Linked DNA regions of Homo sapiens: regions 1 and 3 are each linked to region 2. Evidence: promoter capture Hi-C in 16 types of primary human blood cells and fetal thymus (Javierre and others, 2016). All regions are on one chromosome and are shown on one strand. Each heading gives the region's core, a stretch centred on a gene start or on the middle of the fragment in contact. The rest is flanking DNA. Distances are from core to core; before and after follow the strand shown. Region 1 holds the start of LMBRD1 (LMBR1 domain containing 1). Region 2 holds the start of PHF3 (PHD finger protein 3). Region 3 has its middle 2.7 kb from the start of RAB23.

The links. The method cuts DNA at HindIII sites, captures the fragments that hold promoters and counts their contacts. A CHiCAGO score of 5 or more calls a contact.
Region 1: a contact is called between the fragment with the promoter of LMBRD1 here and the fragment with the promoter of PHF3 in region 2, in 3 of 17 cell types (non-activated CD4 T cells, naive CD8 T cells and activated CD4 T cells). The highest score is 12.4, in non-activated CD4 T cells.
Region 3: a fragment that was not itself captured here is called in contact with the fragment with the promoter of PHF3 in region 2 in 1 of 17 cell types (naive CD8 T cells); the score reaches 5.7 in naive CD8 T cells.

The regions. Positions count from the first base shown.
Region 1 is chr6:69,794,778-69,798,863 of GRCh38, reverse strand. It overlaps LMBRD1 (LMBR1 domain containing 1), which reads left to right and starts at 1,854. Exons shown (of 16, transcript NM_018368.4): 1 at 1,854-2,051. The coding sequence starts at 1,983. RefSeq lists enhancers at 1,933-2,162, 1,791-2,346, 2,473-2,522, 2,347-2,903. The HindIII fragment of the contact is 19,066 bases long and covers 1-4,086 here.
Region 2 is chr6:63,633,248-63,637,432 of GRCh38, reverse strand. It overlaps PHF3 (PHD finger protein 3), which reads right to left and starts at 1,631. Exons shown (of 16, transcript NM_001370348.2): 1 at 1,283-1,631. RefSeq lists silencers at 857-1,036, 1,477-1,836 and enhancers at 1,054-1,874, 2,406-2,943. The HindIII fragment of the contact is 3,030 bases long and covers 1-2,651 here.
Region 3 is chr6:57,222,992-57,226,978 of GRCh38, reverse strand. It overlaps a transcript of PRIM2 not described here. Among named protein-coding and RNA genes, the nearest start is that of RAB23, 2.7 kb to the right of the region's middle. The HindIII fragment of the contact is 1,459 bases long and covers 1,209-2,667 here.

The DNA of each region.
Region 1 (4,086 bases), core at 605-3,104, 6.2 Mb before region 2:
TGGACACAGGAAGGGGAACATCACACACTGGGCCCTGTTGTAGGGTGGGGGAAAGTGGGGAGGGATAGCATTAGGAGATATACCTGATGTAAGACTAGTTAATGGGTGCAGCACCTCAACATGGCACATGTATGCATATGTAACAAATCTGCACGTTGTGCACATGTACCCTAGAACTTAAAGTATAATAATAATAATAATAATAATAATAATAATAATAAAAGAGTGTGCCTGGTTATGTCGTTATCTGGTTGGGTGCAGTCTCTATTGATTAGGTGAACATCTGGTCCCTTTTGGCATGATTCCTTTTGAAATGTAAACAGAATCTTTTTCTAAGAAGTAGTTACTTATGTCAAGGGTGCTCTATACAATCTGGAATAGAGATATCAACCTGGAAGCGATACCTCTCTTCACTTTAAGGAAGCTATGACAGAGGTCTCCAGGGATATGAATTATTAGGAAGAAAGAGTGAAATTCAAACATTTGCAGGTCTAGAGGGCTTAAAGCCAGCTTATGATGGTACCAGTTCAAGTTAAAACTGTATTCTCCCCTATTCCCTTCTTATTCTGTCCAGGCAGGAAGGACCATCCTATTTTTTCCCTCAGGCTTCCAGCCGGAAGTAGATTATAGGTAGAGCATAACTCATCACCACATAATACATTGGAAAAAGATGATGGTATTTTTTCTCAGAGTTGTTTCTTGACTACATCACAGTGGTGAAACATGCACTCACACCCCTGTGGACTCAGGTAAGCCATCCCAAGAGTTTCCTCCCTGTGGACTCAGGTAAGCCATCCCAAGAGTTTCCTCCTTCTTCTTCATTGTGGGCCTATGGCAGTGTGTTTTGTTTGCTGATGCATATACCTTTACATACAAAGCTATCATGGAAATTCACAGGCATGCATACATCTGAATAGAAAGGCTATAACATCATGTGATAAGTTCATGTCCAGCCAACCAGTTATCCCGGCTGGGCACCAGTGCCAGTAAATTAGAGTGATTTGGGCAGCTAGTCAACTTTTATTCAGAGTCAGCTGTCTCATGCGTCCGTGTGAAGAGACCACCAAACAGGCTTTGTGTGAGCAACATGGCTGTTTATTTCACATGGGTGCAGGCGGGCTGAGTCCGAAAAGAGAGTCGGCAAAGGGTGGTGGGATTATCATTGGTTCTTACAGTTTTTCGGATAGGAGGTGGAGTGAAGAGCAATGTTTTGGGGGTAGGGGGTAGATCTCACAAAGTACATTCTCAAGGGTGGGGAGAATTACAAAGAAACTTCTTAAGGGTGGGGGAGATTATAAAGAACATTGATCAGTTAGGGTGGGGCAGAAACAAATCACAATGGTGGAATGTCATCAGCTAAGCTATTTTCACTTCTGTGGATCTTCAGTTGCTTCAGGCCAGCTGGATGTATACGTGAAGGTCACTGGGGATATGATGGCTTAGCTTGGGCTCAGAGGCCTGACATCAGCCATTCTTGCAACCTGGTAAGGAGTTCTGCTAATCACACACATTCCACCTTGTACACGAGGGCCAAACTTCCTTTTGGTGAAGAAGTATAAACCTCTAAAATTGACTTGGATCTCCAGGTCCACCTAGCCCATTCTTTGTGGAGTTCCCTTGCTGTTCTAGTCTATCAACTTAGGCTGAGTCAAATATCTCAATAGGTTGCCCAGCTATGAGCCAACACCCTGCTCTGCAGCCCTCCCACATCTCAGCTTGCAGGGAAGCCAGCGAGGGCAGCGTGGTGATGTCACTGCGTCCGCACGCGCCCCGCCCCTGAGCAGTCCTTGCTGCCCCGCCCCCGCTCGGCTCGCCGCCAGGGGACGCTAGTGGGTCCAGTCTCCTTGGCAACCACTTGCTCCTCCCCCTCCGCCCCTTTAACCTTTAGGGTGCGCGGGTGCAGTATATCTCGCGCTCTCTCCCCTTTCCCCCTCCCCTTTCCCCACCCCGGGCGCTCAGGTTGGTCTGGACCGGAAGCGAAGATGGCGACTTCTGGCGCGGCCTCGGCGGAGCTGGTGATCGGCTGGTGCATATTCGGCCTCTTACTACTGGTAGGGGAGGCGCTTGGAGTTTTCCCCATGTTTGGACTGGGGGAGGAAGGGAGGGGCAGGCCCTGCAGTTGGCCTCTCCGGGCCCCGGAGACCCTCTTCGCCCCGCCCCGCTTTTAGCTTGGACTGTGGAGGGCTCCTTAGTGTTGGGGGCTTGGGCGGGCGGCGGGGGCAGGGGGGTGTCGATTTCCGGTCTCTTTTGCTGTCATTTCACCGATGACGTCTAGGGTTGCAGGGTCCTTTTTGGAAGCTCTTGCCGTCATCGCTGACTTGGGCAATGGGGCCGGTGGGGTTTGGGGGCGGAAGAGACCCTCGGGGTTGAGAAGTATGTGGTGGCCTTTCGTCCCCTGTAAAACATTGTCACACGGTGTGGGGCGGCAGCGCTGGATCTTTGCAAGTTAAGTAGGCGCTGGCGTTGTTTACTTGTCACCTTCTCTGTATGTTTTTTCCCTCATTTTCCCTACCCTTGGGGCTAGTGAGTCTCCAACCTCTGTGCCCATTGTGTGATTCTGCCTTGATGACGTGAGTTGCTCGTTCTGACTTCCAGGTGTCACATTCTCTTCTAATCTTTTTTTGATTGGTGTAGATACCTGTGGAGGGCGGAGCTGTAGCCCTCTTTATTACCAGTATCGGAGTATATACTACTACCTGTCTGACCTCAGGTGCTTTCTTTTCCAACGATCTTATTTCTGCATATTCAGTGAGCAAAGTGTAGATAGAAATGTCTCAGAGTGGCCTGGCTATTACTTCCCTGTTCATATTAAAACCCTTTGGTTTATTTGGGAGTTCAATTTATTTCCTTTCATAACTTCTCTACCTTCTCAAATCTTCTCTTTTCTCATCGTCCGAGGCTGTAGTTACTTTCTGTTCTCACGTATTTTGACCTTTTTGCATTGCAAAACAAAAACCTCCAGTTCTGGAAATCAGGCTTGTTTGGTTTTACTTTAATTGTCAGATCCAGTTGGTGTCTGGTACCTATGTAGTATGTTCTAGTAGATTTTTGCAGTAGAGACTAAAAAAAGAAAATAAAAGAAAAGAATGGTGTGAAAATTTAAGAAAAGGATCCTCTTGTTACTGCCATCACTGTCACAGATAAAAACACTGCCTTTACCCTGGAACATGTTAGTCCTCTCTTGGAGGAAATGAAACCCTAAAGGTTGACTGTGGTCTCTGCAGCCACCCAGTCCTGTATTTGGAGAGCCCCCTGGCTTTTCCAGTCCATCAGATTTAGTTTGTTTAGAAAAAAATAAATAAGCATGTAATGTATGAAAGTTACGTGAGACTATCTTGGCAGTTATAAATTAATAAACATTTACGGTACAGAAGTGGTGTGAATTGTAAGAGGATGTAAACCAAACAAAATACGGCTTTAAAGAGGGCCTGAAGATAAGTGAGAAAACTGAAATTCTTGAAACATGTATTTTATGGACCGAAAGCCAAAGTGTGACTATAAATAAAGCAGGACTTAAGAGAATAGACAACAATATTGGAAGAAAATGAGAATTGTGGTAGAGTTTGGATAGATGAAGAAGAGAGGCCATTTAAGTTGGCAATATTACAGCAAGGACAAATAAAATCAGAATTGAATGTTGTCGTGGATAAAAGCATTAGGAAGAAGGACTTTTGTTTAAATTTCTGCAAATCTCTTTAAATCCTGGTTTATTAGAAGAAAGGCTGGTTTCTTTTGTTGCCTTCTACATTCAGTCTTTTGGGGTATGTTATTTTAGTCGAAGTGTATGGAGAAAATACAGCTGCAATGATAGGTAGTCAGAAACAGAGGAGCGTTTTTCAGATAATTGTGGATGTTTTTTGACACTACACCAAAGCTCAACAAGTGGAAGATTCATGTCAGCTGCAAGGTGGAATCTGAAACCCTATCAATGAGCATTTCATTCATTGTTACATTAAAATCCATTAGCCCATCTTGCACTTTGAAAGGCTCTTTTACCCATGCATGGTTTTATAACATGATGCCATGGCCACTTAGAAAATGTTGGTTTACTGAGTTATGCACATCTTTTAAATATGGATACGTTTC
Region 2 (4,185 bases), core at 382-2,881:
TGACTCAACATGTCGCTCTAACACAAACATACATCTTTTTCTACAAATATTTTCACAGTTCCAAACACTTCATTCAGGAATCGAAAAATGAATAATGGAGGCGTAGTTTTGTTAGGCCTTTAACAATCATTTTGTCAAAGGGAAGACAAGTTCGACCCCAAAATAGTAACTAAATACAACAACGTACTGTTTAAGTACTCCCTACAGAGTTTACTGCATTGGTTTTTAAATTTAGCTTAAAATAAGATAGTAAAGTTAGTATTTAGAGAAGCCTCAATAATCGATTATTCTTTTTAAATTAAATATCGCTACATGTAATGCAGATTAGGACTAGAATATTAAAGCAGTGTTGCCACTTAACATTAATCCATGAACATATTCTACGCGTGACTACTGGAAAGCACTAATAACCACCCCAATCTAGTCTCTAGGAATTGGCATTTAAAAGCCCAAAGATGGAAAAAGGTCACCTAACCCGGCAACACATCCTGAGGGAAAGGAGGGACACAGGACTCCGTGCGCGATATCAACATTCTCTTCCTTTCTACTCTCCGCACCGCCCCCGCCCCCCGTGTCAGGTGATCAGTTATTTAGCACCATTAACACGTACGTATCGACAAGTGGTTCATTAAATTACATGTATTATCGGAAGGCAAGAGTCTAGGCTTCTCATTTCAAACTAAGCAAAAGGAGTCCACAGTTTGAGTCCCGGGCACAAAAGCGCGCGGTAACTGGAGGATAAATGGAAGAGCAACTCTCATCTCCAAAAAGCAGCAGCAGGGAGCAGCCTAGCAGCCAGGGCCAGTCCCAGTTTCCCGAAACCAAGGCCCAAAGCTCCATGCTGGGGCTCCCTGAGAAGGAAGAGGCCCCAACGGCCGGATCCGGGGGCCTGCGAGACGGGCCTTCCAGGCAGCGCCCGCCGTGCCTCGGGCCTGCGCGCCCGCGCCTCAGCGGCGGCGGGGCGCCCTCGCAGCAGACGGCTGGGTACCAGTGGTCGGGAGAGAGGCCGTGGTCCCGACCCTCCGCCTGGCGACCGCGTCGCTGCGACTCCCTCCCCAGCCCGCGGTCCAAATGGTCCACAGGCGCCAGCGGCGCGGCCCAGGTAGGCCGAGGACGTTGCGCAAGAGGCCCGAGAGGCGATCTCTCGGCTGCGCGGGAGAAAAGCGCGGAGAGTCCGCCGCGGGAGGGGCGGAGAGGCCCGCGGAGGCGCTGTGCGTGTGGAAGGGGATGGGGGAGGGGAGGATTGCCCGTCTCCCTGGCCGCGGCCACAGCCGCAACTCACCCAGCTCCGCCAGACGAGCGCTACCACTGGCAGCAAGAGGAAGATGGTGGACGCTGCCGCCGCCGAAGAGGAGGAGGAGGGGGCCCGGTGGGTGCCGCGGAGAGGGGGTACGCGCAGGACGTCGGCGTCGCTGCCACAGCCTCTTTTCCTCCTGGGACCAAATGGCTGCTGCTGACGACACTATTCTTGGCTTCCGCGCCGCCCTCCTAATCCTCGTTGCAGCCGCCGCCGCCCTGAGCCCGAAGGTCGCTTGCCGCGTGGGGACGGTGCGACGGCGCGAGACCCCGCAGCCATCGGCGTGCGGCGGCGGCGCGGGAGCTGGAGAGGGGCCGTGTCACGTGACCCCACTGTTTACCGTTCCGGGGGCCGCGGCCTGCGTCGCTGCCGCGCCTGCGCGCTTTAGGGCCTCGAGCGCCGCGCCTCCGTGGGGCCCCGGGCTGCAGCGCTTCCCGGCGTTGCCGCGCCCCTCCCTGTCTTCGGAGGACGCGGCACCGCCTGCGGGCTTCTAGCTCACACCTCCGCGCCGCCGGGAGGGGCGAATCAGAGGAGCGCTTTTTCTCGACCGTAGTAAGCACTAAGGCTTCACAGTTAATATAATATTGATGCGCAGCTCCCCAACCCCAGGTACTTTTTATTAATTGACTGTGAGTTCAAGAATGGTAGAATAGGATGGAGTAGATGAGCCCTCTGCCCAAATATCTGTGCTGGCTCGGCACAGCAGCCTTACCATTAACTACCTCCGTTACCCTCACCCTACATGGCTGATCTACCTCAGGACTCAAATTGCTACCTCCAAGAAACATTCTTGGTATCCAGTAAGCAGTCTTCAGAATGTGGTCCCAGGTTTCCCTGAGGGGTCGCCAAGACCTTTCAGTAGAGCCTCCATTCCTTTGCCAGGAGCATGTGTCTAAGGCCAAATTTTCTTCCCACCCTTCAACCAAAACAGCATATAGCAGCTGATTCAATGCAGAAACAGATAAGAGAATCCAGCCATCTTCTATTAAGCCAGACATTGAGGAAATCTGCAGAAATTTTAGATATCACCCTTTTATTAATTTGGAAAATATGCTTTTCATAAATACATTATTTGTGGTAACAAATATTGTGTAGAGGTCCAGAGACAAAAAAAGTTTGAGACCCACTGGTCTGCTTCCACAGACACTTGAGCTAACCCCTATCTCAGCCCTTAATAAGCGCTGTGAAGTAATTGTTGCTTGTCAGTCACTCCAACCAAAAGGAGCTACTTAGGGACAGGGTTTGTGGCTTTTATCTACAGGGACTATTACAGTATTCAGCCAGTACCTGCTGAGCACCTTACTGTGTGGTCTGCACTGTTCTAAAACCTTTACAGTACTTGTTGATTTAAGCTTTAGACCAACCGCAGCCCACATTGTAAGATTAGTGCAGGGTGGAAGAATAAGTCACAGGCATGTGGTGAAGATCTGTTCTTTCCTCTCTCTAGTCTTCTGATATTTTAAGCACTCTTAATAGCAAATGCTCTTCTACAAAGGAAGTTTGGGTTGTCCTGATTCCACTGGATTCTTAAGAGTTTCACCCCCTGTCTTGACTAATCAATCCCTCAAGACTTTGTTTTACAATCTTTTTGTAATGTGTTTTTGAGAAAGGAAAATAGAAATGAGTAATTTTTTTTTTTAATTCTCACTTGGGATGTCTGGGATGAATTATAAAAACAAGCCTAATGTTATTCTTACTCTTCTGGTGGATCTCAGTGTGACGTTTTAAAAGGGCGTTCAGAAAAAGTAAAATTATTGTTATAAACAAAATCCAACCCCGAAGGAATTCAACAGAGTAGAACTTGATGACGGAGACCACTAGCTGGAAAATCCCTTAGAAGGGCTGAGGAAAACTTACCTTCTCAGAGAAGTTTTAATAAATTTAAGATAAAACAAAATGGAGATTAAAAGAAAATGTAAGAATCATAAGACTGTCACATTTACAAAGCAAAGATTTCTGATCCTTAAAAAGTCAACAAGCTTGCCATAGGCATGATGTTTTGATTCTGTTATTTTGAACCAGCCAAGTGCCCAGATTCACATTTGTCCACTAATGGTCTTTGCTTTTTGCTTCCAGATGTAAACACGAACTGTTTATCTTATACCCAATTCATAGAAAGGTTAGTAGAAGAAAGAACCAGCATAATAATACTGGCAACAGCTATAACTGCACACAGGACTTATTGGAAGATCAGATTGTATCAGTAACATTGAAAACTCCAAATTAACTTGGGAAAATTAAATTTGGTAGGAAAACAAGACAGAGTAATTGATAATGACTAAAACTGACAGTGTATTTGTATTTAACTAAAAAATTATCAAAGAAGGAAAAGTGATAAAATTTGGATCTTGCAAAACATTGACCCAAGAAAACTGAGCCTGGCAGAGATTAAGACCATGGAAGACAGTAAACAATGTAGACACAAAAGTCAATTTTGATATGAAAAATGCTTGTCATCACTGAAACATTGGTCCCTACAGTAATCAGTAAACTAAATATGGAAAAAAAAAATTGGAAGAATTAACCCCTATGAGCAGAAAGTCAATAAAAATATTAAATTTATTTAATGAAGTTTTTTCTGGCAAACACTTTGTAGACATGTACTTTCGTGTTAATTTAGAATAGATTTAAATGTTTGTATGCTTAAACACAGAATCAAAACAGTGGGGTCAAAAGATCTCAAACTCAGCCGGGTGCGGTGGCTCACGCCTGTAATCCCAGCACTTTGAGAGGCCAAGGCGGGTGGATCACCTGAGGTCAGGAGTTTGAGACCAGCCTGGCCAACATAGTGAAACGCCGTCTCTACTAAAAATACAAAAATTAGCCAGGCATGGTGGCAGTCCCATGTAATCCTAGCTACTCTGGAGGCTGAGGCAGGAGAATGGCTT
Region 3 (3,987 bases), core at 689-3,188, 6.4 Mb after region 2:
AGGACAAAACAAAAAGGAATTTAGAATGAACAGATTATTCCCCGACTCACACTGTGAGGGGTTATAACTAGTCCCTTAGTGACCAATCTCAGCAAGGCAGTCATTCAAGAAACCTGCAAGTCACTCTTTACATTCCGTCTTTTTCCTACACCATAGCCAAATCCTATAGGTTCTACTTCCAAGATTAAAAACAAATGCACTTTTCTGTATCACCCCTGTAACCATCTCAGTCTAACCCTCCATCATCTCTTGCCTGAACCGGCCTTCCATTGCTCTCCCATTTTCCACTACTCTATGTTTTCCCTAGATAGCAGTCAGAGGAATTTTTTAAAACTGTCCAGTGGATCTCCTAGTCTGTGCACTAAAAAATCCTCCAATGGCTTCCCAATATACTTGAGATATAATCCAAATTACCTAATATGACCTGCAAGGTCTTCATGATCTGGCCCCTGCTTCCCTCACCACTGTTCTTTATTTTTTACATACCGCTTTCCACCTCACTCCTGCACACTGGCTCCCTTTCAATTATTCAAACCCAGTGAATTGTTTGCTGCCTCAGGCCATCGTACTTCCTGCTGTCTCTGCTTAAAGGCTTTTTCTGTCTATTCTTCACCAAACTCATTTATCTTTCAGATAACAGCTTAAAAATCACTGTATCAGAAAGGCCTTCCCTTGGTTCTCCAACATAAATTAGGGCTCCCTCTTACATGCTTCCATCATACCAGTTATTTACTTTCACATAATGTCTAAGGGTATGTAATCACTTATTTGTGTATATGTGTGCATATGTGTGTATTTGTATACTTTCTTTTTTGGTCTCCCTTAACACATTATAAGCTCCCAGAGGACACAAACCATCTGCCTTTTGTCTATTACTGAATACCCAATGTTCAGCACAGTCCTTGGCACAATATGTATTTTTTTTAATGGATAAATGACCTTGTAAGGTGGGTAACTCCTTACTATAGATGAGGATACTAAGATCCAAGGTTATTAAGCAACAGAAAAACTGAATCAGTACTCTAATGTCTGCCTAGAAAGTACTAGAAAAAATTTTTTTTCCAGCATGATCTGTTTGAATCTGAAGAACAGTAGATTATTATTGTCTAGCCAAATACTGTGATTTCTACTAGTTTTTTCCAGATGGCCACATATGCATTCATATGTATATGCAGACTTATATTCTAAGTGGTAAAATTTTCAAAGCTTTCTTTCTTGGAAGAAAATATTTTCTGATTTTTCTGTTTTTCTTTCTACTCAGCTACAATTCATGATCCTTGGACACTGTTCAGTTCATTAGAGTCAGACACAATGAAAGAACGAGCAAGGGAACAAATGGACATTTTTTGCTGGATCAGTGGAGGTACTAGATTCAAACAATCATTTAATGACTTAATAACTAACTTTTCAGAATGTTTTCCTTAAAATAATTTTGTGAAACTCATTTCTAGTCACTGCAGGTAAAATTTCTTTCAAAACCTTTTAGGTTAATTCTGTTGCTATTTCTACTATAGCACAACTACATGATTTAAAAGGCCAGGTTTCCATGCAGGCTTTCATTATTTCACTGCCTTCAGTGAGAGCATGAGAATCTCTGCTGTGTCCTTGAGAGCAGCCTCAAGTCAAATAAAAAGTAGACTTTAATTGCACTGAGCATGTCTGCAGGGAGGATAAACACTTTTTCTCTACTCTTGTAAGTTCAGTAGCAGAAGCCTGCAAATTAAATTGACAAATGACAGATAAACAGGAGAAAAGGTTTATTTCATATGCACATGGGGGGCCTCACAGAAAGGAAGTGAAAACCCCAAAAAGCAGTTAGGCCTAAGAGCTTATATACCATTTTTTTAAAAGGTGATAAATTGTGGAGAAGTGATAAGACAAAGGAAAAAGGGGTGGGACTTGTGAAGGTGGTAAATTGTGGCCGAGTAAACTATATGAGGGAAACTATTGGAAGACAAGGGTTATTTTGCAAGGTTTGCCATATGACTCAAGTTGGTGCTCTGGTGATAGGAATCTCCTCCTCCTAGTGTGGGATGGGGAGGAGGAACAACTTCACAAAGGGAAATTTATGTCCTGCTTTTAGGCAGAAATAGGAAAAGCAGAGTGTTTCTTCTGTTCTGCTGTTTCTTAATTGCCTTCAACTCCAAATAATGCTTGTGTCAAAGTGGCATGTTTTGGGGTGGCATATTCTGGATCTCCTTCAATGTCCAACAATCCCAAGGAAATGGAAAAGTGGGGAGGAAAGAAATGATTTTGGGGGAACCCCCTTTCAGGAAGTTTTTCTCAAATTTGGATCCCAGAAGTACTCCCTGAGACCCTCTAAGATTTTCTTTTTTTTTTTTCCCATTAAAAAGAAATTTGGCAAGATATACATAAAACATAAAATTTACCATTTTTAGCCATTTTTAAGTATAAAGTTCAAGAGCATCAAGTTTATTCACATCGTTGTGCAACCATCACCACCATCTATCTCCAGACTTTCTTCATCTTGCAAAGCTAGAACTGTAGACATAAAACAGTAACTCCCCATTCCCACCTGCCCTTCCTTTCCCACAACCACTTCCCACCCCCCAACTGTCTCTATGAATTTGACTACTCTATGTACCTTATATAAGTTGAATCATACAGCATTTGTCCTTTTGCGACTAGGCATAATGTCTTCAAGCTTCATCCATGCTATAACATGTGTCAGAATTTCCCTCTCTCTCTTTTATTTTTGAGACAGGATTTGCCCAGGCTGGTCTTGAACTCCTGGATTCAAGTGATCCTCCCATCTCAGCCTCCTAAGTAGCTGGGATTACAGGGATACCTCGCCACACCTGGGTCCCTCCTTTTTTAAGGCTGAATAATATTTTATTGCATGTATATACTACATTTTGTTCATCCATTCATCCATTGATGGACATTTGGGTTGCTTCCACCCTTTGGCTATTGTGAATAATGCTGCTATAAACATGGTTGTACAAATTTTTTTTTGAGTCCCTGTTTTCAATTCTTTTGAATATATACTCAGAAGTGGAATTATTTAATCATACGATAATTCTATTTTTAATGTTCTGATGAACCATACAATTTTCCATAGTGGCCGTACCATTTTACATTCCCACCAGCAGCACACAAAGGTTATAATTTTTCCACATCCTTGCCAACACTCATATTTATTTTCTGTTCTGCTTTGTTTATAATCATCATTTTAATGAGTGTGAAGTTGTATCTCATGGTTTTGAGTTGCATTTCCCTCATGATTAGTGACCTTGAGTCTCTTTTCATGTGCTCATCGGCCATTTGTATACCTTCTTTGGAGAAATGTCTATTCAAGTCATTTGCCAACTTTTTAATTGTTTTTTTTCTTTTCTCAGAAAGGGCATCAGTACGTTACTCAAGTTTAAGAGATACTGCCAACCAAATCCTAGAGATAAATCTGTTAGCTACTTGATATTAAATTTCTTACAAATACTATTGCTATTATAGGTAAAATAATCTCCACTAATTTTTAAAATTATTAAGTGTGAATTATAATTCACATACAGAAAAATGTGCATAAGAGTACAGCTTGAATTTTCACAAATGGACACGCATTTATAACTAGCGCCAAAATCAACGGAGAGAACCTCACTAGAAGGAAGCCCCTCTTCCAGTTGCTAACTGGAAGCCCCTCTTCTAGTCGCTAACTCCTTCCAGTCACTATCCCCTGCCCACCAAGGTAACCATTATGCTAACTTTGAGCCTCTTAGTTCTTCTGTTTTTGTAGTTTATAGAAATGGACTTATGCCATGTGTACTTTTGTTGTCTTTTTATGCTGGGCATTAGGTTTCCCCAGTTGATTCACGTTATTGCCTGTAATTGCAGATGCTTTTTTGCGTTGCTGTATAGTGTTTCATTATATGAACTCTGTGTAATTTCATTAATTTATTCTATTGTTGATGGTCTTTTGGGTTATTCTCATTAAGGAATTATTACAATAAATGCAGCTACGAACATTCTGAT